2 separate regions of the Homo sapiens genome follow, and region 1 is linked to region 2. Evidence: promoter capture Hi-C in 16 types of primary human blood cells and fetal thymus (Javierre and others, 2016). All regions are on one chromosome and are shown on one strand. The core of a region is centred on a gene start or on the middle of the fragment in contact, and the rest is flanking DNA. Distances in the headings are between cores, read along the strand shown. Region 1 holds the start of GGA2 (golgi associated, gamma adaptin ear containing, ARF binding protein 2). Region 2 holds the start of USP31 (ubiquitin specific peptidase 31).

What was found. Contacts are between HindIII fragments. The CHiCAGO score rates a contact against its expected background, and 5 or more counts as called.
Region 1: the fragment with the promoter of GGA2 here is called in contact with the fragment with the promoter of USP31 in region 2 in 5 of 17 cell types (endothelial precursors, activated CD4 T cells, monocytes and 2 more); the score reaches 7.5 in endothelial precursors.

The regions. Positions count from the first base shown.
Region 1 is chr16:23,508,607-23,512,434 of GRCh38, forward strand. It overlaps GGA2 (golgi associated, gamma adaptin ear containing, ARF binding protein 2), which reads right to left and starts at 1,888. Exons shown (of 17, transcript NM_015044.4): 1 at 1,715-1,888. The coding sequence starts at 1,805. RefSeq lists silencers at 1,575-1,744, 1,815-2,044, 2,115-2,164. The HindIII fragment of the contact is 8,010 bases long and covers 1,040-3,828 here.
Region 2 is chr16:23,147,770-23,151,281 of GRCh38, forward strand. USP31 (ubiquitin specific peptidase 31) reads right to left here and starts at 1,683. Exons shown (of 16, transcript NM_020718.4): 1 at 869-1,683. The coding sequence starts at 1,501. RefSeq lists silencers at 824-1,053, 1,184-1,283, 1,384-1,433, 1,584-1,683 and an enhancer at 1,864-2,083. The HindIII fragment of the contact is 4,661 bases long and covers 1-3,512 here.

The DNA of each region.
Region 1 (3,828 bases), core at 638-3,137, 360 kb after region 2:
AGCCTTCAGTCTTCTCTTCCCATCTGCCTCTTCAATGCTGGGGCTCCCCACGCTCTCTTTCCAAACCTCTGCTCTTAATATACGCAAGCTTCTCCCGCAAGCTCACTGCCAATGAACCAGACTCCCAAACCGTACGTCCCACACTTGCCCTCTCCAGTGCCAACCAGCTGCCTAGAGGGCATCTCTTTTTTGACTATGCCACAAGCACCTCAAACTCCACATCTCAACCTTCTCTGCCTAAACCAGCTCCTCCTCACAGGGGAGGCATCTGTAACCCACCAGTTCCTCGAGCCTGAAACCCGCGATCTAGCCTAGATTTCTCCTTGTCCCCTGTCTGCATTCCAAGGCACCGAGGCTGCTGACTACGCCTGCTCATTGCTTCTCCCTCTCCCCACTGCCTTAGTCCTCCTGCGGCCCCCAACCACCACCAAAAGAGCTTTTTAGCCGCTCTCCCTGCCTGAAGTCTCACCCTCTCCGCCCAATTTAGCACCATATGGCTGCAAGTGACGCCTTTAACAGGCTTCCTTGATCAGATTCTCCGGCTGAAAACTCCCAAACAGCAACCCCGCCCTCGGATAAAACATAAACTCCTTTCTGCAGCACACAAGGCTCTTGAAGATCTCGCCCCAATTAGCCGTGCAGCCCCTTTCCCGGATTCCTGAGCTTTAGGCTTGCACTCCAGCGGACTGACCTACTTGTTCCCGGAGTGCTCCACATTCTCTTGTCCCCAGCTTTTGCACACGCAGTTTCTTCTGCCTGGAATGCGGTCGGCTGTGACGACCCCCAGGTAAACCAACTCCTACCACCACAGGTGAAACGAACGCCCTCCTCCTCCTCGCCAATCCCGTTAGTAAGGTGATGTGACTGCCGGCTTGTACCCACTAAAAAATGTTTTGGTGAGCAAGGACCCTGTGTTATGCATCTCAGTGTTCCTGGCACCTAGCAGAGCTGGGTACAAGGGGAATATTCTTTATCCCCTTTGAACCTCAATCCCTCATTGGTAAAACGGAGATAATAATAACCCCTAAGATGACTGTGAAGCTTACAGGAGACATGCAGAAGAATTCTGGCCAAAGGGTTTGAGCCCAACCAGGGTAACATAATGAGACCCCGTCTCTTAAAGGAAAAAAAAAACACACATATATATATATACGCACACACACACACACGTGTGTGTGTGTTTAAAAAAAAAAGTCTGGCCAAAGTAAACACAAAAGGTAAAAAATTTCTTTTTGACGCGGTAGCCAGATAGAGATCTTTCTCAGCCCCAAACAGACTGCATGTCTTGCACGACTGCGTCTCCTTAAGCCTCAAGGTCCCCGCTTCCGTAGTGGGGTTAATAATAGAAGCCAGCTCGGGGTGGGAATGAGGATTAAGCAGGACTAAGCCGCTGTGAGCACAGTGCCTGGCGCAGGGGAAAGCGCAGGTCACGTAGCCATTGGGGTGGGGGTCGGGGTCCTGTGCTGCTGCTAAGTTGGGGGGTGGGCGGAGGGGGAGGGGCAGAGCTCAGAAGGGGGCCGCTGCCCCGGCGGATGCTTGGGGCTCCTCTCGGGGGACCCCTGGGCGATCTTCCCCACCGCGCCGGGCCCAGGCCCCCTACCCGGCCGCCGGCCTCCCCTGCGGCCGCCCGCCCCGAAGCAAGGCCCCGGGAGGCGGGAAGCGAGGCCTCACGTGCGGCGCAGCGGCTGCGCCGAAGGCCTGCCAGGCTACTCACTGAGCCACAGCTCCAGCGACGCTGCCGGGCCCGGGGGACCCTGGGCCGACTCGGTTCCCGCCACAGCCGCCGCCACCGCGGTCGCCGCCATCGCTCCAGCCCCGACGCTGCGGCCGCGGGCGCCACTGCCTCTTCAGCCGCTGTAGCGTCCTGGCGCTCTCCTCTGCTGACTGCGCGGCAGGAGCGGTGGACACGTGACGGGGCGGGGCCGCTGGCGCCACGCCCACCCCAGGCCCCCCCTCCACGCGGGACCGGCCGGAACATTTCTTAGTCCAGATCCCTCCACCCAGCGCTGGTCTTCTAAGACCACTCACCGTACGGTTGCCAGATAAAATACAAGACGCCCAGTTAAATTTGATTTTCAGAAGAACACGAATAATTCTTTTAGCATTTTTATTTTTTAAGAGACGGGGTCTTGCTCTGTCACTCAGGCTGGAGTCCAATGGCGCGATCACGGCTCACTGCAGCCTCCACCTCCTAGGCTCAAGCGATCCTCCCGCTTCAGTCTCCGGAGGAGCTGGGACTAGGGGAGGGCACCACCACGCCTGGCGTGTGTGTGTGTGTGTGTTAGAGACTGGGTTTCACCGTGTGTGTGTGTGTGTGTGTGTGTGTGTGTGTGTGTGTGTGTTAGAGACTGGGTTTCACCATGTTGCCCGGGTGGTCTCGAACTCCTGGTGTTAGAGACTGGGTTTCACCGTGTGTGTGTGTGTGTGTGTGTGTGTGTGTGTGTTAGAGACTGGGTTTCACCATGTTGCCCGGGTGGTCTCGAACTCCTGGGCTACAAGATCCTCTTACCTCGACTTCCCAAAGTGCTTGCATTTATTTTTTATTTTTCTTTTTTTCTTTTTTTGAGACGGAGTCTCACTCTGTCGCCTAGGCTGGAGTGCAGGGGTGCCATCTCGGCTCACTGCAACCTCCACTTCCTGGGTTCAAGCGATTCTCCTGCCTCAGCGTCCCGAGTAGCTGGGACTACAGGTGCATGCCACCACACCCAGCTATTTTTTTTTTTTTTGTATTTTTAGTAGAAACGAGGGTTCACTATGTTGGCCAGGCTGGTCTCGAACTCCTGACCTCGTGATCTGCCCGCTTCGCCCTCCCAAAGTGCTGGGATTACAGGGGTGAGCCACCACGCCCGGCCTATGTGCTTGCATTTTTATTCACAGAAGGGTTTTCCTGGAACACTTTTTTTTTTTTTCAGATGGAGTCTCGCTCTGTCGCCCAGGCTGGAGTGCAGTGGTGCTATCTCGGCTCATTGCAACCTCCACCTCCCTGGTTTCCTGGAACACTTCTAAACTAACATGTCCTGCATTCCTCAATACTCTGCTTTATTTTCTGCATCACACAGTACACCATCGATGTATTATTTACTTGCTTATTCTGTTAAAAGATAATTTTCCCAAAAAAGTATGTCATGATTATCATAATTATGAAATGAATACGTGTTAAATATTTTATTTAATTACATGAGGGAACCAAGCAGATGTTATAATCAATCCAAAAGTGAAGTCAAAGAAGGGCAAATTTATCTGGAAAAAAAGGAAGATAAGACGAATGTGCAAATGGAGGCAAAACTGGCTTTTCGACCGGGGTGAGAGCTGTCCCTCCAGTGAGCGGAATTTACCTATTTATAGGCAAGAATTATTTTGCATTGGTATCAACTTAACAGAGTTATGAGACTTCTCAAAGACAAAGAAAGGCTAGAACCTGGAAGGTTGTGCTGTCTAGACAACACATAATTTTCCATTGAAGCTGTTGTGCCGTACCCCTATTAACTTCAGTAGGGATGGCACCATGTTTGAAAGGCGGAAGAAGAGACCCAGAGCCACTGAATGAGGCAGGTTTACTGAGGGGACTTACGGGGTGGTCTAGTGGCAGTGGGCTGGACAGGAGGACCACTACCATTTGTAAAGAGCATCAGTTTATATAGTATTTTCAACTAGCACCCTTCCCCTAGCAACCTCCATCTGGCAACCTCAATTTAACCCCAAAGGGCCTTGATCCCCCGTATGGCCTGCGTTCCACAGGATGGGGCCAAGGGTTCAGATGTTCCTCTTAGATAAAGAGTGAACCTCTGGGCTGGCCACTCTGTGATTCTGTAGCTTGGAACTCAGAAC
Region 2 (3,512 bases), core at 433-2,932:
GTGTTTTAAAAATAAAAAATAGGTAGGTATGGTGGTGTGTGTCTGTAGTCCCAGCTATTAAATACTCTGGAAGGTGAGGCGGGAGGATTGCTTGAGCCCAGGAGTTTGAGGCTATGTGAGCACTGCACTCCAGCCTGGGCAACAGAGCAAGACCCTGTCTCTAAAAATAAAATAAAAATAAAAAGTAGCCTGTCAGCACATCAATCACAGCAGCAGGTTTTTCTTTCTTCAAACCACTATCTGATATTATCTCGTTAACTTCTTCAAGTCTTTAATAACAAAAATAATAGCAGCAAATACACATGATATGGAAGTATTTTACTTATCAGGTTGAACCCTATAAAAGTGCCAATCTGTAAATAAAAAACGGTTAAATATGGGTAATTCCACAGTGTTCGATTTAATATATTAACTTGTTTGCAGCTCACAACCACCTTACAAAGTAGGTCCCCCAGATGAAGAAACTGTAAGAACAGAGAGGCTGCTTAACTTACCCGACGTCACATTGCTAGTAAGTGGCAGAACCAGGATTTGAACCCATGCTCAACACTCCCACCCCACAAAAATGCAAGTTCCATGAAGGCGGATAGTCTTGTTCATTGCAACGTCACTCCCATTGCCTATTATCACAGAGTATGGGCACGTATGTAGTAAGTTCTCAATAAATACATGTTTGAGTGAGTGAGTGAGTGAATAAATGAATGAATGAATGAATCTCCTTAAAATCACTGGTCGACTGCCCAGACCACTCGGAGCAACCAATGCAGAAGCCTGCCGGGCCAAGAGGAACCGAGGGAAGGAAGACCTGGGCGGGCAGGTGCCCCAGGGGCTCGGGGTGCAGTGGGGGCGCGGCGGCGCGCGGGCTCACCTTGAAGTCGCGGCTGTGCTGCGGGGTGTACTCCAGGGTCCAGAGGGCCCGCACCAGGTGCGCCAGCTGCTCAGTGACCTCGCCCTGGCCCTGCGCGCCGCGGCCCGCAGGCTGCTCCGGGTCAGGCGAGGGCTCGGGCCGCCCCGCCCGGTACTGGCCCAGCGCCAGGTACTCGGCGAAGAGCTCGGTGTTGCTGAGGCACTGCAGCGTGGCGTTCATGAAGCACGTGTTGCCGTGGTTGCGGAGCCCCGCCACGCCGGGCACCGGCTCGGCGGCGCAAGCGGGCGGCGCGGGAGAGGCGGGCGGCGGCGGGCACGGCGGCGGCGTGGGCGCGGCGGCCGGCCCGGGCGGGAAGCAGCTGCGGAGGCCGCCGCGGTCTGGGGCGGCGCCCTCAGAGCTAAGGTGCGAGAGCGTGGACAGCGTCTTGAGAACGCGGCTCATGAAGCTGCCCACCGAGCGTGCAGAGGAGGGCGAGGAGGGCGAGGAAGGCGCGGCCGGCCCGGACGCCCCGGGGCCCCCCGCGCCGCCGCCGCCAGCGCGGCCGCTCCGAAACAGCCGCTTGCTGAAGGAGCGCTTCTCCTTCCCGCTCGCCGCCGCCGGCGGCCCGGACCCAGGCGCCGTTACCTTGGACATGGCGGCGGCCGCAGACACTCATCACCGCGCCCGCCCGCCCGGCCCGCGGCCCCGCCACGGCCGCCGCCGCATCCCGCAGCGCCGCGCCTCACCGGGCCCGGGGGCTCGACGCCCCACACACCTCAAAGCGCAGCCGAGCCAGCGAGCGAGCGGCGGCCGGCGGGGCCAGCGGGCGCGCGCGCGGTCCGCCCAGCTGAGCCGCTCACGTGACGTGCCTCCCGGCGCCGCCCGCCCGGCGCTGAAGCCGCCTCGGCCGCCATGTTCACTGTGGGACGGTAGCTGCCTCTCCAGCCGGACGCGATGCCTGGAGGCTGCGGGCGCGGTCCTGCTGCGTGAAGCCCGAGGGAGGCCATGTCTAGTGTGGGCGCCGTCCCGGCTTGGAGGAAAAGGCTGGGCTCCCGTTGGATGGTGGATCCCCGGGGTGGGTCTCTGTCTTTGCTGGTCAGATGGCAGAGGCGGGAACGTGCAGGAATCAGGATGCTGTCAGTTACCAGACCGTGCAAGAGCTGGTGGACATGGCCCTGACAGGTCCTGGGCAAGTCAGCCCTGTCTGGCTCCCAAGGGACGTTGCAGATACCTACCCTCTGGGTGCCAGCGGAGCGCAGTCACAGACCCTGGCACGTCCCAGCGGGCTTTTCTTCCTGGCTGCACCTTGGAGTCCCAGCGAAACGCTGTTATCATAACTACTTTCCTTTTCATTCCAGCCTTTAAAACTCCTCCGGGCTCTCCCATCATTCATCATTCCATTCATTCATTCACTCACTCATTCATTCAGCAGTTACTGGGGATATTGCAAAGAATTAAACCTATTAAATTAGAATCAAATGTCATATCCCCAGCGGATTAAATTAGCACGGTTTCTACCTGCCCTCTTGCAGCTTACATTCCTACTGGGTGTTTACAATAGCTGTTGTGTTCCACACATTATGCCAAGCATGCAATATTTTCTTTAATCTTTAATTCACCGTCTTTGAGATTGGTACAGTTCTTATCTGATTCAAACCCAAGTTTTATTTACAACCCCTATACTTGACCTCTAAACCAAAGGTCACGAATCCACAAATATCACAGGTCACAAACCCACAAATGAGTGAAGAATCCTGGTGTTTGAATCATCATATTGACTTTCAAGTGACTTGGGTCTCAGTGTTGGGGGAAATATAAGGAATGATGGGGACTATAGCAGACTTCAAATTAACATCTTTCTAAAGAGGTGGCTGCCACTCAGCTCCAGCCAGTTGTTCCCATGTGAGAACAGGAGCTCAGCGTTACCAGATCATCTGATGTTTTAAGAGAAGGCAGAAATCCTATTTTTAAACGTTGGTTCCATTAAAAAAAAAATAGTGCAGGGAGCAAAAAATAGTACATCTTTGGGATGCCTTTAGTCCAAAATCAACTAGTATATGACCTCCTCTCTATAGGCTCCCCTCTGCTAAAAGGGCTAGTCTGAGTCCTGAGGCAGAAGAGAGAAATCAGAGAAGGGAGAGCCCTTCCTCCTTTTTAAAACATGAAGGCCACCTTACACCACGTTTCAAAGTAAATGGTTTTTACCTTTGACCTCCCTCCCCAATGTAAGTAGGGCTCTATGATGACATCTCCAGGGTGCTCTGCACTGTCCCTAATCGGCTCCACTCTCCTCTTAGTCAAAATTCTTATCTGGACACCAGGAAGAAAGCCATCTGATTATTCACACTAAAATGTGAATGCAATGGCCCTCAACTTCTGGGCAGTTTGATCTAGACTCGAGGGCCTTTGCTGGAGCCGTTCCCTCTCCCTTGAACCTTTCCTTAGCTAACTTAGAACCTTTCTACTTAGCTAACTTCCCCTCATCCTTAAAGTCCCACCTTAGATATCACCCCCTCCAGGAGATGTCCCTTCCACAGGCCCTCTTGGCACCTCTCATTCATGACACTGACTTGACCATATTGCAATTCAGTTTACAATCATCACCTTCACTAATATGTGGGCTTCAACCCAGTAGAGACCCATCTTACTCATTATTCGGTACCCA